Linked DNA regions of Homo sapiens: regions 1, 2 and 3 are each linked to region 4. The links are contacts of gene promoters, found by promoter capture Hi-C in blood cells and fetal thymus (Javierre and others, 2016). All regions are on one chromosome and are shown on one strand. The core of a region is centred on a gene start or on the middle of the fragment in contact, and the rest is flanking DNA. Distances in the headings are between cores, read along the strand shown.

Region 1 (6,645 bases), core at 2,565-5,064, 2.2 Mb after region 4:
GGCAACTATATACATGAAAACTCCTATCTTCCTGCCTAAAACTGTCAACATATTCTTTTGTTTATAGAGAATGTGGTCTTTTGCAAAATGAAAAGGTAAGAGAACGAAGCTCAGTAACACAAACTCCAATTCTGTTCCCTTGCACCCTTCCTAATAAATTTATGGACAGTCTGGGTCAGGTTGTGGCTGGATTTCTATATTGCTTGAAGACTTGGAAAATTCTGTGTATTATTTCATACATGCTTCTGTATCTTTTTTCATTTCCCAATGGGTTATTAATTTCACATCAGAGAAAAGAGTCTAGTTGTGGGGTTTTTTTTCCCCTAAACCAAGCAATTTCTTTGAATAAAAGTTGAAATTTCGTTTTTCAAAGGTTTGTATGTTTTCTTTTGTATATTAGAACTATGACTGTGTTTATTCTCATAATAGTAGCATCTGCATAAATCTAACTATTGCACTTGCCCCAAAAAGCCTTAGAAAAGTCAGTTGCAGAGATTTGTAATGAAATCTAATATTACTAGGTTTTAACGCTATAATAGCTTCAGTGTTATAATAGTCTTTTATATTTCCTTTGGGGGAAAATGGATTACTACTCTTTTTCAGAAGCCTGTTCCCAAGGTAATCACTTTTTAAAGTTTTCTGTGTTTCTGTTTGTTCTGAAGAAGATTTGTTTGTATGAATGTTAAAAGGACATATAAGTTAGTTTTCAAGGATATTCCTGCTGGAATTAAAATAACTCTAAGTGATCTTTATCACAGATTTTTTTTTCCTTTGAACTAGTAGGAAACAGCTATTTAGCTGGTTCTGTTATGTAGCAATTTAAAACTAATGCTGTAGGCCACTTTGTGGTTGTTCCTTGTGGCAGATACTTTTGTACCTTAAAATTGTATTTTGCTATTTAAATTTTTGTTTCACAGGGCTTTCTTCCTTAGATAATTTTGTGATACAATTGAGTATACACATACTTAATTTAGATATGTTCCTGTAACTTAATATAACATAATTTTTTTGTCTTACAGTCTAGCTTCAATTAAGTTGAATAATAAATTTACCGTATAAAAATTAAACACCTAAAAAGATTATTGAACTTCTTCCATGTATAGCACATTAGGCAAGCTAATTGGAAATTTGGAGGAAGTAAGCTAGAGATTTTTCTAAAATTTTATTAGTTTTCCCTGAAAGTTAATAATTTAAATATCATTTAGCCAAAGTATGTTACTACTAAAAGTGACTGTTCTAAGGCTGTTTGTGTGAAGTATTAAATATATGTTCTTTTCCTCAAGGCTTTAATTAGTATCTTTTGGCCTTTTTATGCTTTTGTTATTTGATTAGCTTAAATTTTTCTTTTCTGAGTGTTCAGTCAAGTTATCTGTACTGACCAGAAGAGGAATTTCATCTTTTGCTTTCTATTTATTACTTGAACATTACTTTAAAGTGACTTATAATTGGAGACTGACAAATTTGTGTTTTCTTCAAACAGATGAAAACTTTATTCTCAAACATGACAGAGCGTTCCTTTTATCAATGGCAAATCGAGGGAAACATACCAATGGTTCCCAGTTTTTCATGTGAGTAGGCATAATTCAGAGATGAGCTTTTCTTAAACAGAGAAGCGCTGTTCATAAGAAAGATGGTATAGTTAAACCAAGTTTAATGCTAAAATTCTGTCAGCTTTATTTTTATTATTAATTTCTAATATCATAGTAACTTATAAGGTCTAACAACTGCCTCAGCATTCAGCATATATCCTGAATTGGAAGAATGGGACTTAAAAAATTTAAAACTTATACATTGTTTTCAAAATATGCCGTCATCTTCAGAAAAGATGACGGCATATTTAAGCCCCTGTCAAATTCGAGTGCTGACTTTACCAAAACTAGATTGGAACATAAACTATTGATGAACATGTAAAAATTGTTCATAGACGAGTATTCAGTTACTGTACCCCCTCAACAGGGAAAGCAGTTTGAGTAAACCATTGCATGGTTGTTTTTTCCTCTTACTGTTGCTCTTTGAGGCAATTTTGAGAGAGGTACTATTATTTTCTGATGTTGTATAGAGATAGGTGACCTGCTGTTGAGCGAGCATTTTAAAAAACTCATTTTATGAGGTCTCCATGCATAATTGAAATAACCCAATGTTGCTGTCATTTCCACCAAAATTTATGAGATTGTCACTCAGGAAACTTAAGAATACTAAATTTGCTTTTGAAAAAGCAAATATATTTACATGGATGTGCATTGCACAACCAAAAACTTACCTTTTTATTATCTGAAAATTCTAAATAAATCCTTTGGCATACTTTTAGTTATATTCTTATCTAAGGCTGCTTCAAAACCTATTTTTATCATAATTCTATCATATAAAATGTGAAAGATAACTGTCCAGCATGAGGGTTATTGCTTTTGATTGGAAGTGAATCTCAGTTGTCCTATGTATGTTGGAGAAATATTTCATTAATAATTTATTGAAAACATTTTCTTTGTCATCTTTCTGAATGAATGAGTATGAATGGCGCTTCCCTGTCTTTAAAGGAGTATATTACTGACATACAAAACTCAAATGTTAAATTTGTCTGAAAAATATATTTCTACATGATCTGATAAAGTTCAGATAAGGGGCATTCTGTTCCTAAGAATGTCCTAAAAATGGAAAGCTGATAAAAGATTATGCTTAGAATTATACAGGTAAAAGACCTACAACAGTTGTTCTCTTGTTTTGATCCCATAGGTTATTTGTTATTACTCTTCTTTAACAGAGTGATTTTCTATTCTTAACCTTCTTAAGAGCCAATACAGAGTAGAAAGAAATATTTTCAGAAAGCCTTTTTAATAGTAACTTAATGTAAAAATTGTTTATCCTTTGGTTGAGGTTTCCCATTTCCATTTTTAAGCTTATCTGAACTGTGAACATGAAAAACGTAATGATTCATTGGTCAAGAAGCTACCATTTGAGGGCTCTAAAGTTTCTTTTAGATTTCCTTTTTTATATCAGTACAATTAAAATTTGATTTATCAAGTAGCAGCAGCTTCTTGATATTGTTACATACATTAGCTTGTTCATAAAATGTTAGAGTTAAAACTCATTAAAAATGCTATCGTTAAACATAAACTAATTAAAATTCAGTATACGAGATTCTCCCTTCAAAAACATCTTATTTTTATTTTATTTAGTACTTGCTTCAGTGTTTTCTAGGAATATCTAGTAAAGGCCTTTACTGTTTTCCACATGGCCTAATTTTATATTGGACTACAATTTTTGAGAAGGAATGCCAAATACAAAATTTTGAATCAATAAATTACAATTATAATTTTTATACTTATTTTCAAAGTTAATTTACTTTAGATGGCAGTAAAATCACTGAACTTCTGATTGAAAGAAAATTTTTTAGTTTGAAATTTCCTTCTGGAAAGGGGTTTGCAGTCCCTTTGGAAAGGAGTAAGCAATCCTGGAAGTAATTGAGTATTTAATCCTCCTATATTTTTTCTGAAGATTTTTGTGTCAGTATACTTTCTTTATGCTGGCTAGAAAGATCAGTTCTCAAGAGTTGCAGGATAAAATCAAATTAACTTTCATGTTTCAGAACTAAAACATATCCTTGCATTTATGGGAAGGATAGGTAAAAATGGAGATGGTGGCTGATAAAATAAAAATCTTTGAAACTATGTTTTTACAAGCCCAAAGCCTTTTGGAGTTGAAAGTATTAAAAAAAAGTATGATATGCTATCTTCAGGTTATGTATATGATCACAGATAATAGCTCTGATGGTCACAGAGCTTGCTGATGGCTTCCAAAGGATGGCTCCTGCCTTTTACCTTGTTACCACAGCTCCTCATAGGGCACTTTGAGTGGCAGTTCTGGAATCTGAAAAAGAAAGGATAGTGTAAGAATGGTGGTAAAATAAAAAGAACTGTCTTTATAGTTCCTGCTTTATAGGCTCAATAAGGATTTTTAATACATCCTTGCAAAATTGTTTTTGTAGTTTTTGTTACAAATCTGTTACTTTGCAATTCCTAAGGAGTAGATTTGGTGCTGTTAGTATGGGTATTTGCAAGACATCCCTCAAGGATTCTTATGTTTTGTGCATTAACTACTGTCTTCATTACTTACACATCTAAAAACTCCCCCTTCCTTAGGCATATGTCATTTTTATTCAACATAATTTTGCATATATTGCTTTCTTTGGCTGGAACAATTATATACATGATGAAAATCAGATTTTCTTCTATAAATCTATTTGTAATTTTTACAGTAACTTTATTTCTAGTACTGTATTTGTCATAATGATTTTGCTCTCGGGGGTCTATATAGAAGAAAACTTGATTCTTTTTGGAATAGTACTGCTCAAGAAATGTGGAAGAAGTGATATATGGCACTATACCCATGAATCACTAAAGAAACAGTGGTTTTATTTTGAACATTTTTGAAGAAATTCAAAGATTTGGGACTAAAGTTACCAAGTTAATTTGGTATTTATTTTGTCCTTTGTATTCTTATTTTTTAGGTTAAAGAATAGGAAGAAACCACAATAAAAGCTGGAATTATAAAGTCATAGAGTGGAAAGGGATTTAGAGATTATCTAGTCCAACCTTTTCATTCTGTAGATTATGCTAAATTCTTGAAAAGTCATGTAAAGTCCAGGTTATAGAAATTTTATTTACAATCTGGAAGAAACTGATAGCTAGAAAAAGAATGCTGCATACTTATTCATATTATTAATGCCTTTACTATAAATTTAAGCTTATTTAAGCTCAAAATTTTATTAACCACTCTGCTCTGAATTTATTTTAGTTAAGGATTAGAAGCATCAAACATTTTGCTGGAAAACAAAATGACATTTGGGGAAACATTCTTTCCCCTTTTGCTGTTACTGATAGCTTATTAATTCTGGCTGTAATTTTTTTGTCTTTATATACATTAATCAAAAAGACAAAGATGTTGTATAAAATAGTCATGAAAAAGATTGAGTAAATAGTTTATAGCTTTGTAGTAACTTCTGGGATAGGACACTAATATAGCTGTCAGGAAACCTTGATTTTAGTTTCCTATGTACCTTCAGTTCGTTTTTCTTAAACATTGGTATAAAAATATGGATGTAAAAGGAAGAAGGTATTTTGTAGGGTAGTTGTAAGTTCCTGAATGTGTGGAATGATTTATGTGCAAACATTGTCTTGCCTAATGGAAATAGTCATAATTGCCTAGTTTTCATTAGTCTGAAAAATGTCTTAAAGAAGTATTGGGCTCATCTTAAATCAAGAGCAACAGAAGTCTCTTCATCAGCTGCTGTTAGAACATGAGTCTGCGCAGCCATAGAGTAGGGATCTGCAGACCCTGCAAGAACAGTTCCTGTCACTGGCCACTGTCAGTGGTCATTAATAATTATAACAATGTAAGAAAACAAGATAATATAGAAGAGTCAAACTTTGAACTTTAAACAAAACATGTTTGCTACATTTTAACAGTCATAAATAGGGCAATGGGGGGGCGGGGCATAAGTTTTAGAATATGTTTTATGTCATTTAAGAATCTGACTTGCAAGTACCTGAATGGGAGAGAAGTGCTGATTATTACAAAGTAGTGGAGCAAGGAGAGTTGAGGAGTAGTTGGTTTTAAGGGGTTTGTAAAGCTGTGTTGATGTTTTGGGTAATAAAACTAGATTCGGGGTAGAAATGCTTTTTCTACCCACGTATTCATAAATTTATGTAAGAAGAAATGCTAGTAAGTGTTAATAACCTGAGAAGCTCTAGCTTTTTCCTTCCTTTTTTTGGGGTAATACCTTCATATGTTAATTTCAGATTTTTTCATGAGCAAAGATGTTCGTGAAACTTAGCCATAAACCATATTCTCTGAATATCAAGTGTCATCCCTAACATTCAGGCTTAATAACTTAATGTTTATGTGACTTACGTGCTAGCAATGTGGAAGAAATTTTTTATCTAGTAATGTTTGGTGTGTATTATCTTAACATTAGTGCTGAATTTTAGAAAGCACTTCTATTTTGGTGACTTTTGGAACACATGGGTAGAGCATTGTCAAGTGGCTTGGTTAGTTTCCATTACCCTTATACAAGTGTTGTCATTCTGTACAATTTGGTGCCTCTTCCCTGACAGTGTGATAGTTTCAGGAGTTGAAGGGAAAGCATTGCATGTTAAAAGCTAAAGTGGACAGAAGTTATCTTTATTTCCCTCTTCTGTACTACTTTACACCTACAGTCACTTATTTTTTTTTTTTGCAACATTCATTGAAAACTCCACATTATTTCAAACATTATGTTCTTTTTTGACTTATTCATGTTGTCAATGCCTTTATGATAATTTTAAGCTTATTTTTAAATATTTCAAGATTTATTACATTCAAAACTCTTATAAAGCATTTTGTTCATGGTATAATAGTATTTTGATCTGAGTAGTAATAGATTTATTTGTTTAAATATAGATAAAAATTGGTCAGTGTGTGTTCTCCAAAAAAAAATCTTGATAATGGGGAAAATCAGAGATTAGACAGGAAAAGAAGATATTGTGGCTAAGATTTGACTGCACTTACGCTTTCATCTCTCTTGCCTTTTTATTCTCTGAGAAGGTCCCTAAAATTGTAGTTAATGCTGCTTTATTATTATGTTCAGTGACTTAACTTCAATGTGTATCT
Region 2 (7,065 bases), core at 2,797-5,296, 2.1 Mb after region 4:
TCACAGACCAAATTGCATACTTTTATCTTCGAATCATCTAAAATATAATTTCAAATCACAAGACAGAATAAAATAATCTTTGAGAGAGGCAGAACCTTAGAAAGGAGATATTTTATCTCATTTATTTTACAGATGAAGAAAGTAAACTTCAGAGAGATCAAAGTGATTTGTCTCAGGTCACATAACCAGTGGCAGAAAGAAGAGAATTGCTGGAATGTCAAGATAAGAATGAATTCTAGGTTTAAAGTTGTTTAAGTATATCCCAAATTAAATATTTCATTCCTGAGCTCTAAAACCTATTTACATTGAAGCCTGATGTCCTAAACACGGTAATTACAAAGCTGGGTAATGGTCTCCATCCTTTCCTTTCATGAATCCATGTATGAAAGTTAGCTTTATCAAACTATTTCATCTCCAGAAAGGCATGTACATTTCATACTGTTCAAGTCTGTAATTGTCAGCAAAATCAGACCCAAGACCGCTAGCTTCTCAATTCAGCCTACAGACTGCTCCTCTAATAGACACACTGGACTCTCAGGGAGGTAGAATGGGCAAGCTCTAACAAAGGACAGCACTTCTGTGATGGTGTGGAAGTACCAAAGGTTTGACTGTACTTTAAAAAGGTGACATGGACGGCTGGGTGCAGTGACTCATGCCTGTAATCCCAGCACTTTGGGAGGCCAACGCGGGCAGATCACAAGGTCAGGAGATCGAGACCAGCCTGACCAACATGGTGAAACCCTGTCTCTACTAAAAATACAAAAAAATTAGCCAGGTGTGGTGGCGTGTGCCTGTAGTCTCAGCTACACTGGAGGCTGAGGCAGGGGAATCGCTTGATCTCAGGAGGCAGAGGTTGCAGTGAGCCAAGATCGTGCCACTGCACTCCAACCTGGGCGACGGAGCGAGACTTTGTCTCAAAAAAAAAAAAAAAAAGGTGACATAGGTGCAGAAACAGGTCAGAAATGATCTAAGTCAAGCTTGTCCAACCCGCCACCCAGGGGCCACATGTGGCCCAGGACAACTTTGGGTGCAGCCCAACACAAACTCATAAACTTTCAAGAAATATGAGATTTTGTTGCAATTTTAAGCTCATTGGCTATTGTTAGTGTTAGTGTATTTTATGTATGGCTGAAGACAATTATTCTTCCAATGTGGCCCAGGTAAACCAAAAGATTGGACACCCAATCTAAGTGAGCCCAATTTCCAAATTTACTATAAAACTACATTAATTAAAACAGTGTGCCACTTCACATCCATTAGGATGGCAATAAAGAAAACCAAAAAATAACAAGTGTTGGTGATGATGTGGAAAAATTGGAAACTTTGTGCACTGCTGATGGAAATGTAAAATAGTGCAGCTATGGAAAACAGTATGGTAATTCCTGGAAAAATCTTAAATGGAATTAGCTTATGATCCAGTGATTCCATTTCTGGGCATATATCCAAAATAATTGAAAGCAGGTTTCAAAGAGGTATTTGTACACCCACATTCATAACAGTACTATTTACAACAGCCAAAAGGTAGAAGCAATCTAAATATCCACTGACATATGAATGGATAGACAAAATATGATATACACATACAATGGAATATTATTCAGCCTCAAAAAAGGAAATTCTGACATGCTACAACATGGATGAAATGGAAGACATGCTGAGTGAAATCACCCAGCTACAAAAGAACAAATTTTTTTTTTTTTTTTTTTGAGACAGAGTCTCGCACTGTCACCCAGGCTGGAGTGCAGTGGCGCAATCTCGGCTCACTGCAATCTCTGCCTCCCGGGTTCAAGTGATTCTCCTGCGTCAGCCTCCTGAGTAGCTGGGATTACAGGTGCCTGCCACCACGCCCTGCTAATTTTTTGTATTTTTAGTAGAGACGGCGTTTCATCATGTTGGCCAGGCTGGTCTCGAACTCCTGACCTCATGTGATCCACCCGCCTCAGCCTCCCAGAGTGCAGGGATTACAGGTGTGAGCCACCGCACCTAGCCTACAAGAACAAATATTACATGATTTTACTCACATATGAGTAGACAAATACTAGAGTAGACAAATTTACAGAGAGAAAGTAGAAGGGTGGCTGCCAGGAACTTGGGAAAAGAGGGAAATGGGGAGTTACTGTTTAATAATACAGAGTTTCAGTTTTGCAAGATGGAAAATGTTCTGTGGACGGATGGGAGGTACTGAGGGTTGTACAACCGTGTGAAATACAGTTAATGCCAGCGAACTGTACACTTAAAAATGGTTAAAATGGCAACTTTCACATAATGTGTATATATATCTATAGATCTATAGATATCTAGATATCTGTAGATCTATAGATCTATAGATAGATTTTTTTTGTTTGAGACGGAGTCTCGCTCTGTCACCCAGGCTGGAATGCAGTGGACCGATCTCGGCTCACTGCAAGCTCTGCCTCCCAGGTTCACGCCATTCTTCTGCCTCAGCCTCCCGAGTAGCTGGGACTACGGGCGACCGCCACCACGCCCGGCTAATTTTTTGTATTTTTAGTAGAGAAAGGGTTTCACCGTGTTAGCCAGGATGGTCTCGATCTCCTGACCTCGTGATCCGCCTGCCTCGGCCTCCCAAAGTGCTGGGATTACAGGCATGAGCCACCACGCCCGCCCATGTAATGTGTATTTTATAGTTTAAAAAAAAAACTTATAAAATAGTGTGGTACTCAGACACAGATCATTGGAACAAAAATCCAGAAACAGACCCACACATATATGGTCACAAGGCGAAGGTAATTCAATGTATAAGAGTCTTTTCAGGCCGGGCGCGGTGGCTCACGCCTGTAATCCCAGCACTTTGGGAGGCCGAGGCGGGCGGATCACGAGGTCAGGAGATCGAGACCATCCCGGCTAAAACGGTGAAACCCCGTCTCTACTAAAAATACAAAAAATTAGCCGGGCGTAGTGGCGGGCGCCTGTAGTCCCAGCTACTTGGGAGGCTGAGGCAGGAGAATGGCGTGAACCCGGGAGGCGGAGCTTGCAGTGAGCCGAGATCCCGCCACTGCACTCCAGCCTGGGCGACAGAGCGAGACTCCGTCTCAAAAAAAAAAAAAAGAGTCTTTTCAACAAACGGTAATGGAACGACTGTATATCCCAATAGGAAAATGTTGACACTTACTTGACAACATAAGCAAAAATTAATGATATTAGATCATATCATAGACTTACACGTTAAAGACTATGTAAAACATATATGAGAACACAGAATATCTTCAAGAACTTGAGGTAGGCAGAGATTTCCTAGCACAGGAAAAGCACAAACCATTAAAATATAAAACTGACCAATTGACTTAATCAGAATTAAAAACTTCTTTGCCAAAAACGTCAAAACAATGAAACGACAGGCCCAGATTGGGAAAAAGACTTCGCAATCATTTATGTAACAAAAGATTTTCATTCAGAGCATACATATATCTAACAAAACATTTGTATCCAGAACTGTTAAACACGAAGGACCAGATTTAAAAACGGGCAGAAGACTGGAACTGAAACTTCACAAAAGATGCAGAATGGTCAGTAAGCACAGGACAAAAACGGTGCCAGTGACGCTGGTGCCAAAGCGGGAAGGAACGCATTCTTCAGCCTAAAAGACCTAACAGTAGGACACGGACATAACCACTCCCGGCCAAAAAGAACACAGAGCAACACAACGTCTTGGCTAACGAAAACTCAAAGCCTCAATTCACTCAGTTCCTTCACAGCGCTCGGAAACAGAGAAGTCTCGCGGTATCGGAAAATGCGCGGCGCTCACAGCCACACCTGACGAGATGGAGGGCGCAGGCGCATCCACGGCTTTCAGATTGGGCGACTGACTTCAAAGGGGGGGGCAAACAGGGAACGCGCAGGTATAGGAGCGCTGGCTGGAGGCTCCTCGAGAGCTCCCCAGACACGCCCCCGTGCGTACGCCCCCGTGCGTACGCCCCCGCTGCCGCCACCTTCGGTTGACCACCCCCATCTAGACTGTACTCTCGCGGTATTTGTCCCGACTCTCGCGGGGTTTAGCGTGGCATTGGGAGGCCCGGCCTGGGGGAGGAGACGGCGTTCCGTTAGCGGCGTTGGGGTTTGGCTGCAGTGGCAGTGCTTTCTCTTCTGCTCACGGGGACCCGCTCAGGCTGGAGGCCAGCCAGGTGAAGAGCTCGCCCGCATGCGTGCGCGCTGCGTGGGAGCCGCGAGGCCCGGGGCGGGAGGGGGCCTCGTCTTGGCCTCCTGCGCTGTCGCGACGGGCCGGCGTGAGGCACCGTGGCGCGGACTTCGTCTCAGCCCCGCCCTCGCCCCTGCCCTCGCCCCCGCCCTCGCCCCTGCCCTGACCGCTTTTCTCCCCCTCTCTCCCAGCTCTTGCCGCCACCTCGGTCGCGATGGGGGCGCAGGACCGGCCGCAGTGCCACTTCGACATCGAGATCAACCGGGAGCCGGGTGAGCTGGAAACTGGGGAGCGCTGCTGGGGCCGAGGCCTGCCTTGGCGAAGGGGAGGGGTCTACCCTCAGCAACCCTCCCCCGGCCTTTTTGGGAGCGGGTAGGAGGCGCAGGCAACTTTCCGTTTTCTCTTGAGAGAAAATCAGTGGGAGAGGAAGGTGGCCTGGGCACACCCCTAACTCGCAGTCCGGGCCTCTTCCTGCCAAACCCCACACACCCCGCTGCATCTCCGGACTGAGTCCTCGTAGCCAGCCTGGCGCCAAGAAAAGGAGGTGCAGTTCTTTGAGGACTTTTTCTCTCCCAGTGTCTCCGTGAGGCAGACACTCCCGATCCGATTTCCGGTTATCTTGCTTGGTGCTATGAAGTTTCAACTAGTAGGAAATATTGTGTGTTTCCTAATCACGATATATCACTAATATGTTAATTTTGCCTCTATTTTTCCTTAAGAATCTTTAGCTAGAATTTCGTGGTTCCTGGGAAAATGGCTTAGTGAAGATCTTTTGTGATAAACCAGAGCATTTTGTACCAGCAGAATTGCAGCATGCATGCACTTAGCATTAATGTTTGTCTTTAGGGAATCCAGACATTTGTTAGTGTATTTTTTTTAAATGAAACATTTCCTTCTAAAGCATAGTTATTTCATTCTAAGTAGCAGAGCGTGCAGGGTTTCAAACTGTTTTCTTAGCTTTTTTTGTTATCCGTGACAAAAGTTTTAATTGGAGACATATATATATGTGTTGTCTTTGTGCAACATCTTGTTCTGCATATTCTTATGAGAGCCTGCTACTGTTCTAGGGTCTGGAGATAGAGCAGCGCATAAAACAAAGGCCTCTTCCTTTTATAGTTTATATTCTATTGGGGGGAAGACGGACAACTAGGAAAAAAATAACAGTGACTTGTAGTTGGGATACTATTTTAATAAGTTGGTCAGACAAGGCCATTTTGAGAAGATGAGATTTAAGCAGGTATCAGAAGGAGATGAAGTGAGCCGTATTTAAGAAGAGCATTCGTGGTAGAGGGAAACAGCACAGCCCTGAGGTGAGGAGTAGTATACAGTCAGGCGCCAAATGACATTTCTATCTTTAACAATGGTCTTATATATAATACCTTTTTTTGGTAACTTTTTAATGTTTAGCTGTGTTTAGATATACAAATACTTCATTGTGTTAAAGTTGCCTACGGTATTCAGTGGAGTAACATCCTGTACAGGTTTGTAGCCTAGGAGCAAATAGACTATATAGCTTAGGTGTGTAGTAGGCCGTACCATCTAGGTGTGTTTAAATACATTCCATGATGTTCACACAATGACGAAATTGCCTAATTACACATTTCTCAGAATCCGTCCTGGTTATTAAACAATGGAGGACTGTACTTGCATGTTTGAGGGACAGCAGGGTGCCCAGTGTGGCTGGAGTAGAAGAGGAAAGAGAATAGTAAGAAATGGCCTGTAGGACTGACTCAGTGAGGTAGGAAGATATTAAAGGGTTTCGAGCAAAGGGATGAGATAATCCTGGAAATTTGGTTGCCTTCTCTCTCTTTTTAATGTTTTTAGCCTTGATTGATCTTTTTTTTTTTTTTTTTTAAATAAGTGTTACTAGAAAGCCTTGATGGACCTTAATCTTTATTTTGTAGTGAATCCATGCTTTAGATAACAGGGTTATTTTCTATTAAGAATTAAAAATAGCTCACGCCTGTAATCCCAGCACTTTGGGAGGCAGACGCGGGTGTATCATTTTGAGGTCAGGAGTTCGAGACCAGCCTGGCCTACATGGCGAAACCCCATCTCTACAAAAAATAAAAAAATTAGCTGGGCATGGTGGCTCTCTTAGTTTTTGCCTGTAGTCCCAGCTATTTGGGAGGCTGAGACTGAAGGACTGCTTGAGCCTGGGAAGCAGAGGTTGCAGTGAGTAGAGATTATACCACTGCATGTCAGCCTGGGTGACGGAGTGAGACCCTGTCTCAAAAAAAAAAAAAAAGAAAAGAAAAGAAAAATAGTAGATTGCTGAAGAGTAGAAGTATGACCAAGCATGGTGGCTCATACCAGTAATCCCAGTACTTAGGGAGGCCCAGGCAGGAGGATTGCTTGAACCCAGGAGTTTGAGACCAGCCTGGGCAATATAGCAAGACCCTGTCTACAAAAAACAATTTTTTTTTAATTAGCCAGGCATGGTGGTGCTCACCTGTACTTGGAAGGGTGAGGTGGGAGGATGGCTTGAGCTCAGGAGTTTAAGGCTGCCATGAGCTATGATTGCACCACTGCACTCCAGCTTGGTCAACAGAGCAAGATCTTGTTTCTAAAAAAAAAAAAAAAAAAAAAAAAACAGCTTAAGAAAAAGTACAAATAAAAATTTCTGTAGTTAAGTACTCCTTTCCTAGTAAATGTTCAGATCCTAGATTTGCACATAACCTGTGTTGTGAAAAATCTCCAGAATATGTTTGACAAATGTTCAATGAACCTCATTCCTCAACATCCAAGGCAATTCATTGTGATAGATGTGTAGATGTGATTAGCACTCTTGAGAACGCCGAATCATATAAAACAAGGAAATGCAATGCTTACATTGTTCTAGGTTTAATCATTTGATAGTTGGAAATTTCATATGGTTCAGTCTTGTGAAATAACTAGCACTTTTTGAGTAT
Region 3 (6,845 bases), core at 2,300-4,799, 2.1 Mb after region 4:
CAGACCCCAAGGTGGAAGCTGGTGGGCAGTGAGGGGCTAAGGGTGGTGGTTAACAGGAGGGGCCAGGCCTGTACATGGAGAGAGCTGAGCAGGGAGCCAATGCCAACAAGCAGTGGCCTCCCTCTTCCTCCCACTTCTGCTTCCTCTCAACGTGGGTATGTGTATGCCCTTGATACATGTGTACTCGTGTGCCCCATGTGTGGGTGTGATATGTGTTCCTGTGGATGGCTTACCTGGGCTGGGAGGCAGATGCTGATTGAGGCAGGAGATGCATGGATCATCTCACTCTAGAACAGGGGAGACCTCAGCACTCATTGAGTCTACTGAAGCCCATTTTACAGATGGGCAAAGCGAGGTCCAGAGACACAAGAGCCACATCTGTCTCCCACCAGTTAGACCTAGACAAAGGTTGATTTTCTCCCTACCCCAGACTTTGAGTAATCTAGAGTTGCTGCTTAGGCAGGGCCTTAAATGCCCACTCCAAGTTGGCTGGGGGAGGGTGAGGAATCTTGATTATCTAGTTCATTCTCTCCCATGGTCACTTCCCTTACCATCACCTCCACCAGAGCAGGTATCTCTGTGTTTCCATCTAGCGGATGTCTTGAGCACCCTGGGAATGGGAAGCTCATTGCCTGTCCTAGGAGCGGACCTCTGACAATTGGCAGGAGCCTCACCTCCACCCATGACAGCCATGAGACCCACCTCCTGAGCACTCAAAATCTTACCAAGCTCTGTCCCAGAGGCCACAGCTCTGGCACAACTTGCATGAAGCCTTCAGGCCTCTCCAACCACCATCTGGCCCTCCCAACCCCAGGTTCAAGCCACTCAAACTCTTCTTGGATGAACCGGGGATCTTGGGACCACTGTTGTCACCCCATTCCTCCATCCCGAGAAGCTTCTGAGCCCAGGGGCAGAGTGGATTCAGAGAGGTCTCCTTTCACACCAGGCCACTTCTACTTCACACTTCCTGAGACAGCCCAAATCTGTCTCCTCCCTCCAATGCCTACCCTCCCCCTGTCTTTCCACATCTTATTCGTTTAGTGCCCAACTCTATCTCCTCCTCCAGACAGCCTTCCCTGATTGCTCCAGCCAACTCAACCCTTCCCCCTCTAACCCCACCCTTCAGCCCTACCCACCTCCCAGGCTGGGCTATTCTGGCCATCCTATAAGGTCAGGGGCTGGGGTCTCTTACATCCCCATGTTTCTTACAGCCCAGTGCAGGGGCTGGGTCCACAGAGAGAGGAGAAGGGACTCAACCAGGACTGGGTGAGGGCAGGCTGGAGTGAGGGGTCCCTATTTCCCTCCCTGATTCTCCCTCCTCCCCACCAGCTACCAATCGCTCCCTCATGGAATGGGGCAAACCTGCTCTAGCCGGACTCGGTGTGACGGCGGGGTGGGGGGGCGGGGTGACAGGAGTTATCAGAGTCATAAAATGGCAGCTGCAAAGTTCAAGTTGAAGGCCCAAGGCCTTATCACTCCTGTTTATGGTGCCCTGACTTCAGCCTGGGAAGGAGAAATCTCTGAAAAGGGAGGCAAAAAAAAAAAAAAAAAAAAAAAAGGAAAGAAAACCTCCAGTGTCTCAGAGGAGGAAGTCTGCCCCAAGGCCACCTGTCAAGCCTTCCACTGCCCCTGCCCCCCGGACAGCAGGCACAGGGACTCCTCATCCAGAAGCAGAGCTGCTCAGGGCAATGCCCAGTACGAGGCTGGGGGAGGAGGGTCACAGGCCTCCTCGTGGGAAATTCTCTATCTGGTGTGGGAGACCAGACCCAGTGACTTAGGAGAAAGAGTCCAGGTGGATGTGGGGTACAGCCTCCTAGAACTGGGGCAGGGGTTGCTGAGAGGAACAGTCAGGGGAGGCTCCTGGAAGAAGCAGGACTGTGCCCTAAAGAGTTTGACCAGATGGGCCAATCTTTCACCCTAAACCATAAAACAGCCTCTGTTGACAGGACCAATGGGCCTGCCCCCAGAAGGAGGAGTCCCAGGGACTGGGAGAGGCTCGACTTCTCCCCAACTCTGAGGTTGATCAGTGGCCACAAGCTCCTGAAGGCCTTGCCTTGCCACCGGCATCCTGCTGCCCCTGCCACCTGCCTCTAGCCTCTCCAGAGGCGGACCACAGCTGCCCAGGCCCTCTTGGCCCCCAGCAGGCCACCCTGTGAGCTTTGGGAAACATGGCTGCATCTGGGTCAGGCCTCCTCCTCAAGTGAGGTTACCACCTCAGTTAGGCCTGGCCAGGGCTCCCAGGGTACCATGCTGGAAAAGCGAGCCCTTTTGGAAGTTTCTACCCTCCTGTCCTGGTGCACTAAGACTATGCCTTCTCTGAGGTTTGTGGGACATCCTTGGGGAGCCCAGGCTGGAAACAGGAGAGCTGGTCCTCACTCCACTCCATGGCAATGGCTTGACCTTGGGAACATCTTTAACTTTTGTGGAAGGGCCTCGGGTTCCTCACCACAAAAGGGAAGGTGAGAGGCCTCCGCCCAGTGTGCAGGAGAAGTGGGAGGAGAGGGTTAGGCTGGAGCCAACTCTGCCTCCTGAGTGGGACATAATCTACCCCTGGAGCACCAGGGTCTCTGTGAAAGGGGGTTTGTCTTTCAAGCAGGACTTCTGTGAGCTTTGAAGGAGGTAAAGGTTGTGAAGGTGGCTATGTGAACTGTGTGACTGTCATCCCTTCTCCTACGTCCCCAGCTTGGGAGCCCTGTGCAAACTTATACAGCTATTTCTGGCCCCCATCTTCCCACAGGTTCCCAGGGCAGCAGGAGTCCTGGGGAATGGGGGACGTTTCCTCATTAGGTGGCCAAAACATTTTGGGGGTAAGGCTCCAGGCCTAGGTAGGCAATGGGGCCTCTCAGAGCAGATGGGCCTTCACAACGTGGGCAGCCTCAGTGGAAATCCAACATGGGCCATGAGACCAGGGTAGGGGCTCTAACCTGCCACGTGCCACAACTCTGCCATTGCTGGGCCCTTCACTGTGGCTCCTTTGGCCATGGAGCAGGGAATGGGGCCTGGGGACTATGTAAAGCCTAGTCCCTTTCTTAAATCCTTCTGTTCAACCCCCAGATTCTGCCTTCCCCTCTCTGACTTCTTAACACAAAATGATTTTTATTGTACCCATTGAAAATGTCAGTATGTACTCTCTCACATAACTTAGAAGTATTTCCTTTTTTTCTTTTTTTTCTTTTTGAGATGGAGTCTTGCTCTGTCACCCAGGCTGGAGTGTGGTGGTGTGATCTTGGCTCACTGCAACCTCCAGCTTCCAGGTTTAAGCGATTCTTCTGGCTCAGCCTCCCTAGGAGCTGAGATTACAGGCTCCCGCCACCATGCCTGGCTAAATTTTGTATTTTTAGTAGAGACAGGGTTTCGCCATGTTGGCCAGGCTGCTCTTGAACTCCTGGCTTCAGGTGATCCACCTGCCTCAGCCTCCCAAAGTGCTTGGAATTACAAGCATGAGTCACCACGCCTGGCCCCTTAGAAGTATTTCTGAAGAAGAAAAAAACAGTTTAATCTCTCCACCACGTGTATAGTGTTTTAAATTTTTACTTTTTTTGTGAAAATTTTTAAACAAGCAGAGACAACATTATAATGAACGTGCAAATACCCAATTCCGAGGTTTGACAATTGTTAACATCTAACAATTAATATATGCTTCATTTGCTTTTGGGCTGAAGTATTTTAAAGTAAATTATAAACCTCCTGACCTTTTACCCCAAATCATTTCAGAATGCATCTCTAAAACCAAAGGACACTCTTCTATATAACTATGATACTGTCATTACACACCTAACAAAATTGACAGGAATTGCTTAATATCTAATATTCAAATATCCCCAGCCGGAATGTAATGAAGTGCCACAGGATGAGTGGTGATATTATCCAGGGCTTGGTCTTCTCGCAGGAGTTTCATGTCTGTGTCTGACGGGACTGTCCAGCGAGCTGGCAGGGAGAAAGCAGGGTGCCTTGGCAGTGAGCCTCAGGCTAGCCTCCACTGGGAGGACCCAGTCTTTTCGTGCAGCCCCTCTCATGCGGCCCATTATCTCTCAGGAAGTGCCTCCTACTACCTAACTTCAAAACAAGTTCTTCCTGCACAGCAGGTCACCAGAGGAGGGGGAAGAGGCCACCAACCAATCTCCATGTACTAAGGACTCATAGCCTTGTGGCTGCCTGTGCTGGAGTCCAGCCCTCTGCAGGTGGCTCCAACACCAACGTCACCCACAGGCACTGTGTTTATAAGCTGAGTCCTGCAAACTCCAGTTCCCTAGGTGTGGCCAGGATCGTGAACAAGCAGCAGAGGATTTAAACTAAATGCTTAGCCTGTGTTCCTCTGCAAATAAAGGCTTCATGCCCCCAAAAGAAACCTTCCAAGAAGAACCCTTAGATGGGAACAAGCTAAGTGTCTGTGCTTGGGTTCTGCTAATTATGAGAGCCCTTGTCCTGATATCACTCTGAGATGTGGAAAGTTCTTCTTACCCAAAGCACAATCCTGTATCCTTATGTCTCCCCCTCTTCCTCCCCATCCCCATCAACACTCACACAGCAGTTCTCATTCTCTTCTTCTACCAGAGCTCAGCCTTCCCCAAGAGGAAGTGAGGCTGGCAAAAAAAAAAAAAAAAAAGAATTTGCAGCGGGGAGGCTTTGGGCTGTTGGCTAAGGGATGTAAAAATACAAGGAAGAGAAATCAGTACGGGGCGAAGGTAACTGGCAGACTTGAGACCTCTGGTGGGTACGGCTGGCACTTGTCAGTGGGTAGGACCTTCAGCCTACCTGGGGTTATGCAAGGCACTACGGCTGTGGCTAGGCTTGGATGTGGACAGCAGGGGCAGCCTGGCATGAGGACTGGACTAGAGCTTTGGCAGTCGCTGCTAACCCCCCTGGTGCCTGGCTGGTGTCTTTTACATGTGACCCTCAACCCCAATTCTAGAAGTAGGTGGTATTGTTATTGTCCCCATTTTATAGATGAAGTTGAGTAAATTGCCCAAGTCATCCAGCCAGGAAGCAGCAGACAGTCTCATTCTGGAACCTGTGGTCTGAACTAGGCTCTGCCACCTCGTGAAGAGGGGCTACTACTTCCAGGGTGGGCGACGGCGTGTCACATGCTGCGCTGGGACTTTAGATATTTTTAAAATTAGTAAAATATAGAAATCTGAATTGACAGCTCAGTGAATTGTCACATATGTGTACACCTGTGTCACCACTGCCCAGGTCAAACTATTATACATTCCCATCACCCTAGCAGGCTGCCCTGCAATGAGGGGAAGTCTTATTTTGATTTCCTTTAGTGCTCTCTGCAAAGCTGGGAGCATGTTTCTCCTTTCTTTTGTGACTCCTGGATCCCATGATCCAACTTATGTCCTTTACCCACTCCTTTTCTGCCCTTCCTCCTCCCACCTTTTCTCTCCTCTCTCCCCTCTTGCCTCCCAACTACAAGGGCTGCACGTTCTCGCCCACTCACGTGCAAAAGCCAGCAAGGATGGGAAGGTGAGCTGCTGTCCTGTGTGCCTGTGATCACACTGCTTTCTCTCTGGCTCCTCCATTCCCCCTGTGTCTCTTTTTTACCCCATGATTTCAGCAGGGGGCTGGCAGAGTAGAGTAAATAAGTCGTGAGATATGAGATGGTTTCTGTAAAGGGCTAGGGTCATGTGGGAGAGGGTAAATGAAACCACTCCTGAGCCCCCTGTCCTCTACTCCCCATTCCCCTGCCTCCATTAACAGTTGCAGGCTGGAAAAAAATAAAATAGCCCTCTTGACAAACCTCAGAAGCACAAATCATCCATGGAGGCTCTGCATGCTTGGCAATTTGCAGACAGTTCTTTCTCCTGCCTCACCTTATCCAGCCTGCTGCATTCTGTGCTCCTCTCAGAGACCAGCTTCTCCTCGGAGGGACTCATGCTTCCTGCTGTGCTACTTGGCTCCTCCTGCCCTAGTTCTCTGGCCCCAGATGATGAGGCTGGGGCTTCTGATTCGAGGCAGTAGCTGTGGTCTCAGGCTTCCCTTGAGGGGATTGAACATGGCCTACGAACCTGAGCATGGCCCACCCTGTCTTTCAGAGCCCCTTGCATCTAACAGCTACAACTCCCAGCATCTTCACCCATACCCCCATCACCACACCTAGCCTTTGCTCCAGATCTCAGAGAACCCCACATGGACAGGAAAAAGCAGGGCTTTCTCTCTAGCCCCTCACCAATTCCTATGCTTGACTGAGCTCCAAAAAGTAAGCTTAAAGGCAGCCTGACCCTGCCGTTGAGCTGAGGCTAGAGAGTTTTGGTCCAGGCTGGGCTCTCAGCACCTTCTTTGGGGCAGGAGTTCCTAAGCCCAGAAGGGACCCAGGCTGAAGAAGACTGAAGAAGTCCACAGCATCTTCTCCATCCTGGTCTTCTTCTGTCCTCTGCCATGGGGCTAGCGGGATGTGGGAGGTGAATGACAGGGAGTTGGCAGGAGAATCCTGAGTCTAGTTGGAGACAGGGACTAACCAAGTCTTGTTCATTCCACCTGCCCCCTCCTCTCTGTGCCCTCTCTTTATACCCACTGTCCTGCCCAGGCTTCATCAGTTCCTGCCTGGACTGGTGCAGTAGCTTTCAGCCCCACCACCTGCAACCTGAGGGATCTTTGTAAAATGTGTATCCCCCATCCTCAGTCTCCTGCTTCAAGTCTCTGTTGGCCCCCATGGCCTAGGAGTGAAAGCTCACACTTGAAAACTGGCATTCCAGGCCCTTCCCAATCCTACCCCAGTCTACATCTCTCAACTTGTCTCCTGATGCCCCCAGAACTCCTTGCTGCAGCTACACCAGGCTTCTCACAGCCTTGCATGTATTAGGCATTTTCATGCCTCCATGCCTGTGCACACGCTGCTCTAC
Region 4 (6,958 bases), core at 1-2,500:
ACCTAAGTCACTTTAACACAGAGATACAGCTTCAATTTACAAGCAGCCAGTTGCAAAGCTTCAGAAAAGGTTTTCAAAAAAACAGGACAATGGGTCCACTCTGCAGTCTAGGCCTGATGTTGACCCTTTTTCACAGTCCTGCTTTGTTTTGAGGCTATTAAAACCCTGCTTCATTTAAGTTCCATCTAAACTTTACACTTCCTCAAAATCCTGTAACTTTATATTTTCCTTCCCCTGGTAAAATGTCCCATGGTGTCTCTGGTGTGCAATCTCCCTCATTAAAAAAGATCGATAGACCTGGTTTTGCTGACTACAGGTTTGTCCCTGGTGGTCTTAGGCTGACTGGGCTTGAACAGTCTTGCTCAGCTTCAGGGTTCCTAAGATTGCAAATTTCAAAAACTGATACAACAAACATTTTTTCACTCCTAAATACAAATGCACCTGTCCACGTTGCCAGGTAGTTATGCACATGGCTACCATGTCAATTTGGTCATAACTAGGGTTAGGTCACTTCTCTGGAAGGTTAGTTATTAAGAACAAGAAAGAAAGTCAGGGTTCTGCACAGCTTTTGGTTTGATTCTTGTACTGACTTATGTTTCTTTTTCTTTGGGGCTACAGGTAAATATTTTGTCTGCTAAACTGACGCCCCCATCGCCAGTGTCTGAACAAACAAAACTGAGACATATCTAGTCAGCTGAAGCTGACAAATACAGGGGCCAATCTGGTTACAGGCAGGCAGTCCTGGCCTCGTGACACCGCAGAGACTGTGGGACAAGTGGACGTGCTCCTACTGTCCCTCGCATCCCCCATCTGGGCCGCGGGACTAGTGCCCTCAGGTCTATGACCCACTGCAAGAACCCAAAGCTCGACGCCCGCCCAGCCCTTCACATCCGTCCCTTGCAACAAGCAAGAGAAGAGGGGCGCGGCTTCAGGGGACGGGCGACGGTTTACAGGACAGCTCGTACACAGTACCAGCTGACATCCCCTAAGCCTGAGTGTCTAGGCCCCTGCCTCCACATTTAAGAGCCGACTGCGCCCCTTGGTGATTGGACGTCCGGACGCACCTTGAGTAGAGGCCAAGCAAACTATCGAGCCCGTCCAAAACGCCATATTTGTAACTGACGTCATCCTCATGTTGCCTTTCCTCTCTGTGATTGAGGAACCAATCAGTTGGGTGTAGCAGACGGGGCGTGGCTCTTCAGGTAGAGGCCGAAGGGGCTGAGAGCGGTCCCAGGCGGCCATCTTGATTCCTGGCATCACTCTCAACGTGCCCTCCCTCTCCGTGATTGGACGAGCAGGGCGGGCCTTCCGGAGGCACACAGCCGACCAACCAGAGATCTGCGCGTGCTCGATCTGGTCATCTGTTTTCTGACATCTGGAGCCACTAGCAGTTATCCTGTTCATTCCTGGGCGCCTGCGACCTTCCGAAGGAAACAAGACTTGCTTGGGGAAAGTTGCCTTGCCAGTATAGTGGAGCTTGGTAGAAACTTAAAAACTGCCTGGGGCTGCCTGGGATGGGGATCTCGAGATGCTTGTGGGGAGCACATTTTAGGAAACAGGGGGCTCAAGCTGCATGAAATGCTGCGGGAAATAGGAATGAGAGACGCAGAATGGTCGGAGAAAAAAGCTAGGAAGGTGTTTGGGAGTAAGATTTTGGAGTGCCTTGAATGCCAGACTAGGGAGTTTGGACTATATCCTGTAAGATAGGGGATAAAAATCAACTTTAAACAGGAGTGATATAACAAGATAATGTACTTTAGAAAATAATTCTGTAACTGTAGGGGGAGTCCCAAAGTGTTTCTCAAATTGTGTTCGGGGAAGTTCAAAGTGTGTTTGAGAGCTTGTTTTTATATGCAGATTCTTGCCCCTCACCAGACCTGCAAATAAAGTTCTCTGGTTGTACAGCCAGGAAACTGCATTAAAAAAAAACTTTTTAGGTTAACATACATTTGGTGAGAAAACGCATAAACCATATGGATAGGGCTCTGAATTTTCACAAGCAAACACTTCAGCCAGGCGGGGTGGCCCGTGCCCCTAATCCCAGCTACTCGGGAGGCTTAGGCAGGAGAATGGCTTGAGGCCAGGAGTACCAGATCAGCCTGGGCAACATAGCAAGACCCGTCTCTAAAAAAATTTAAAACAAAAATAATAACACACTCCCGTAGTTAACACCAGATGAAGAAACAACATGGCCAGCAGCTCAGAAGCTCCCCTTTTCCCCTTTAGCCACTGCTGCCTGCACCAAAGGTAAATATGATCATTACTTATAAGAACTGTAGATTAGTTTTGCCTGTTTTGAATTTGATATAAATAAAAGCATACAGGATATATTGTGTCAGCTTATTTGTTAGTGTTATTTATGAAATTCATCCGCATTGTTCCATGTAGTTGCTGTAGACTCCGTTGCTATAGATTGTTATCACAATTTATCCAGTCTCTTGTTTATGGGCCTTTGGGTAATTTCCAGTTTGGAGATAGTAGCAAAAAAAATGCTAAAATGAACATTCTTCTTCATTCATATCTTTTGCTTTGTAAATTATAAAGCAAGACAACAAGACCTAAAGACTGATTCATTCACTACCTATTTATTGAGCCCCTTACCAGACTAAGGTGAGAAAATAAAACAGAAAAGACAGCAAAGGTCCTGCCCTCATGGAACTTATTCTAACTGGAACGAAACAACACCTACGTGGGCAGCAAAACAAGTCAAACAATTGCAATTGTGATAACTCTGAGGGAAACAAGGTGAGCTAGAAAAAGAAGGGTGGGGACTTAACCTTTTTTTATGTGGTAGCCTGGTTAACTCTCAGAAAAATATCTAGGAAAAAATACAAGAGATAAGTTGGCACTGCTACACGATGAGTATTAACAATGGGTAGACCATTCCTGGCAAGAGAGACACCATGTATAAAGGTCATGGAGGAGGAGAGAGCTTGGCCCATTCAAGACCAGTGTGGCTTCAACACAATGAAGGAGGGATGGCATAAGGTGTATCTGGGTATTAAAGCATATGATACAAGGCCAGAGTAAGAAGTTGAGATTTTATTCCAAATATTATGAAAAGCAATCGAACTGTTAAAAACAGGAAATAATGTGATCTGATTTACTTACTTAAAAGATCCCTCTAACTGCTGAGCAGAGAACAGATTAAAGACAGAATTTAGGAGGCTGCTAGAGCAGTCTCAGGGAAGATATGCTGGCATAGAGCTTAGAGGAAAGGCTTGAAATACATCTGGGAACTGTCATGGCAAAGATCATCACCTTAATCAAGTGATAAAAGGTAACACCTCTCTGCACTGGCCTGGGTAAAAATCTAAAGAATAAAATACCACCACAATATTGGGAACCCATGTGTGGTGGTGTATTCCTGTAGTCCCAACTATTCTGGAGGCTGAAGCAGAACTGCTTGAGCCCATGAGTTCAAGGCTGTAGCAGGCTACAATCAGACCTGTGAATAGCTACTGCACTCCAGCCTGGGCAACACAGCCAGACCCCATCTCTTCGAAAAAATGTATATGTGTGTGGCCAAGCACAGTGGCTCACGTTTGTAATCCTAGCACTTCTGGGAGGCTGAGGCAAGTGAATCACAAGGTCAGGAGTTCAAGACTAGCCTGGCCAAAATGGTGAAACCCTGTCTCTACTTAAAACACAAAAATTAGCCGGGCGTGGTGGCAGGCACCTGTAATCCCAGGTACTTGGGAGGATGAGGCAGAGAACTGCTTGAACCCGGGAGGCAGAGAACTGCTTGAACCTGGGAGGCAGAGGTGGCAGTGAGCCGAGATCGCACCACTGCACTCCAGCCTGGGTGACAGAGGGAGAGTCCATCTCAAAAAAAGAAAGAAAAAAAAAAGTGTTTGTGTGTGCGTATATATATAGAGAGAGAGAGAGTGAAGAGAGAGAGAATGTATTCTGATGTGATGCACCAAGGACATAGCATTTCTACCAAAAATTCACTATCTGAATCCAATGAGGAAAACTCCAACAAACCCATGTTACAAATTTAACAGTTAAATCTAAAACTATCAGTTAAAGACTAGAGACCTGATAAATAATTGCAATTTGTAATCCTCCATTAGATCAAGAGCCTGGAAAAACAATTTTTTTTCCCATTTGCTCCAAGGAACATAGGAGCAACAACTTATAAATTTGAATAAGGACTGAAGGTTAGATAATAGTACTATTGCAATATCAATTTCCTGATTTTGATAAGTGTACTGATGACATAAGAGAATCTCTCTGTTGTTAGGAAATACACATTTTAAGAACGTATAGATAGGCTGGGCATGGTGGCTCACGCCGGTAATCCCAACACTTTGGAAGGCCGAGACGAGAGGATCGTCTTCACTCAGAAGTTAGAGGCTGCAGGGAACCATGATCGCGCCACTGCACTCCAGCCTGAGCGACTGAGGGAGACCCTGTCTCTATAAAAGAATGTAACGCCAGGCACGGCGGCTCACGCCTGTAATCCCAGCACTTTAGGAAGCTGAGGGAGGCAGATCACGAGGTCAGGAGTTCGAGACCAGCCTGGCCAACATAGTGAAACCCTGTCTCTACTAAAAATGCAAAAAAATTAGCCGGCCATGGTGGCGCGCGCCTGTAGTCCCGGCTACTTGGGAGGCTGAGGCTGGAGAATCACTTGAACCCGGGAGGCGGAGGTTGCGGTGAGCCAAGCCCCCGCCACTGCACTCCAACCTGGGCAACAGACCGAGACTCCGTCTTTAAAAAAAAAAAAATGTAGCGATAGAAGGACATCATGTCGGCAATTTCCTTTCAAATGATATAGCACATGCAAAACGTTAACATTTGTGGAATCTAGAAGGGTTTGTGGGAATTATTTGTACTAGTTTAGCAATATTTCTGTAACTGTGAATTACTTGAAAATGAAAGGTTAACAAAGTTACTGAGATTAGGAGAGAACGTGAGGAGCGAACAGACCTAGCCATGAATAACCAACAAATAAAACTCGAGGAAATAAAAAGGAACTCAAATGGCATGCGACCAACGGAAGACATAGCTTCTGTACTCTTAACCCTAAATTACTAAGCGATGACCCTCCTGCAGCTTTCTAATCCAAATCACCAAAAACAATCTCGCCGCCCAACTTTGCCAAAAAGCAACTTAACGCCAGCCGACTCCGCCATGTTTTCCCAGTGAGCTTGCGAGCGCGTGCGTACGCACGCACGCACGCACGCACCAACCAATCGGTGCTCACGTCGGTGACTCGTTACCGCAGGGGCGGTGCGTTCTTCTACACATGCGCAGGGTTGGGCGGGTCTTCTTCCTTCTCGCCTAACGCCGCCAACATGGTGAGTCTTACTGTTGCGGGCTCCGGGGCCGTCGACCATGCCGCTCGACCTCCACCTCCGCTGGGAAGCTGAGGCGCCAAACGGCTCCCAGAGGGTCCCGGGAAGCGCATGGTGAGGGTCCCCGGGCCGGCTGTGCAGCGGAATCGGGCCCTTCCCGGACTCGCGCCCTTCCCGGACTCGCCGCTGGCGAGCGCGTGGAGGGCCCGGCAGGCCTGGCGCGCCTTGGGCCACGCGTGCGCGCCTCCGCCGCTGGAGCTGGATGGCTGATGCGGCTCGTGGTCCGAGAGCCTTGTCCTGCCGTGTGGGCCTTGCGGACCTGGGAGCTGGCGGGCGTTGGGAACCGGGCTTAAGCTACTGAGGCGTTTGCTGATTTCGTCCATCCAGGTTGGCGCCTGGCTCTCGGGCGTTTGTTCCCTGCAGCATTCTTTTTCGCTGAATTTAACCATGTTGTCTTTAGCTGCAGAAGGTGACATATGTAGCGAGTATTTCTAAGTAAGTTTCACTGTCCTTTCTCCTCCAATTTTAGGTGTTCAGGCGCTTCGTGGAGGTTGGCCGGGTGGCCTATGTCTCCTTTGGACCTCATGCCGGAAAATTGGTCGCGATTGTAGATGTTATTGATCAGAACAGGGTAAGTGTCACAACTTTTTACTAAACATGGCAGTGGACATGTGCCCTGCAGATGGCAATAATGAATTGTCTCGATGGCTGTGTAAGATGAGGATGCTATGGGTAGTCGCTTTATTTTACCATTGAGGAAACAGGTAATGGTACGGGTTTTAAGCACAGCCTGAAGTTAGCTATTAGTATTGAATTTCAGTATTAGCCACTTAAGCTAGAGCCAGTTATAGGCTGAAACGTTGGTTAGTTTTAAATGAGTTACTATACGTAAAGTGAGTTTAGAACAGATCCAGCACGTAGAAAGCACTTTTGTATTTACTGCTGTGTATTTGAAACAAGCAAACTAAGGAGTTGACCACTGACTATAAATCAGCAGGGATCAGAGTCCTAAAGTTGCCTGTAAATTACATGTGGTTGGTTTCTATGGGGTACTATATAGTTTAAGAAGGAGCATTTAATGATGTGGAGAAATGTTTGTGTTGAGCAAAAGACATACATATATATAACCCAGATAGGACAATCCTTGTCTTTTCTGAGCAATTTATTAAAATAGTAGTGTGGGTTTGATGGCCCTGAACGGATAAGTAATGTTACAGAACCATCTGACCATTTTAATTGCTGTTAGATTTTGCACTGAAGTTCTTGATGTTTGTGTTCTAGGCTTTGGTCGATGGACCTTGCACTCAAGTGAGGAGACAGGCCATGCCTTTCAAGTGCATGCAGCTCACTGATTTCATCCTCAAGTTTCCGCACAGGTAACTGTCCACTAATCACTCCTCCCTCCCATCCCCAGATTTGTTTATGCTAGTAAAAGTTTGTTTTGGAGTAAACAATACGGAAGATTCAGAGCCATCCTGAAGAGGGATTTGCATCATAGAAGTAGACAGGGATTATTTACTTTTAAAATGTCTTGCCTGCGCGTGATAGCTCATGCCTGTAATCCCAGTACTTTGGGAGGCCACGGTGGGAGGGTCTCTTGAGCCCAAGTTTCAAGACCAGCATGGGCAACATGGCGAAAACCCCCATCTCTACAA

The links. The method cuts DNA at HindIII sites, captures the fragments that hold promoters and counts their contacts. A CHiCAGO score of 5 or more calls a contact.
Region 1: a contact is called between a fragment that was not itself captured here and the fragment with the promoter of ENTPD3-AS1 in region 4, in 1 of 17 cell types (activated CD4 T cells). The highest score is 5.2, in activated CD4 T cells.
Region 2: the fragment with the promoter of NKTR here is called in contact with the fragment with the promoter of ENTPD3-AS1 in region 4 in 9 of 17 cell types (naive CD8 T cells, fetal thymus, monocytes and 6 more); the score reaches 16.5 in naive CD8 T cells.
Region 3: a fragment that was not itself captured here is called in contact with the fragment with the promoter of ENTPD3-AS1 in region 4 in 1 of 17 cell types (monocytes); the score reaches 7.5 in monocytes.

Annotation. Positions count from the first base shown.
Region 1 is chr3:42,619,949-42,626,593 of GRCh38, forward strand. NKTR (natural killer cell triggering receptor) reads left to right here. Exons shown (of 17, transcript NM_005385.4): 6 at 1,481-1,568. ZBTB47-AS1 (ZBTB47 and NKTR antisense RNA 1) reads right to left here. Exons shown (of 3, transcript NR_125400.1): 2 at 3,816-3,864. Among named protein-coding and RNA genes, the nearest start is that of NKTR, 23 kb to the left of the region's middle. The HindIII fragment of the contact is 1,847 bases long and covers 2,892-4,738 here.
Region 2 is chr3:42,596,640-42,603,704 of GRCh38, forward strand. It overlaps NKTR (natural killer cell triggering receptor), which reads left to right and starts at 4,047. Exons shown (of 17, transcript NM_005385.4): 1 at 4,047-4,139; 2 at 4,345-4,425. The coding sequence starts at 4,368. It overlaps SS18L2 (SS18 like 2), which reads left to right. Exons shown (of 3, transcript NM_001370300.1): 3 at 1-295. It also overlaps a transcript of SEC22C not described here. RefSeq lists a silencer at 4,141-4,350. The HindIII fragment of the contact is 13,164 bases long and covers 976-7,065 here.
Region 3 is chr3:42,503,369-42,510,213 of GRCh38, forward strand. The region is part of intron 1 of VIPR1 (vasoactive intestinal peptide receptor 1); the gene reads left to right. Among named protein-coding and RNA genes, the nearest start is that of VIPR1, 4.1 kb to the left of the region's middle. RefSeq lists an enhancer at 3,989-4,283. The HindIII fragment of the contact is 5,312 bases long and covers 894-6,205 here.
Region 4 is chr3:40,452,058-40,459,015 of GRCh38, forward strand. ENTPD3-AS1 (ENTPD3, EIF1B and MYRIP antisense RNA 1) reads right to left here and starts at 1,251. Exons shown (of 4, transcript NR_040100.1): 1 at 1,065-1,251. It overlaps RPL14 (ribosomal protein L14), which reads left to right and starts at 5,282. Exons shown (of 6, transcript NM_001034996.3): 1 at 5,282-5,417; 2 at 5,833-5,934; 3 at 6,585-6,679. The coding sequence starts at 5,415. RefSeq lists enhancers at 985-1,054, 1,075-1,144, 5,081-5,375 and silencers at 5,518-5,567, 6,781-6,958. The HindIII fragment of the contact is 7,917 bases long and covers 57-6,958 here.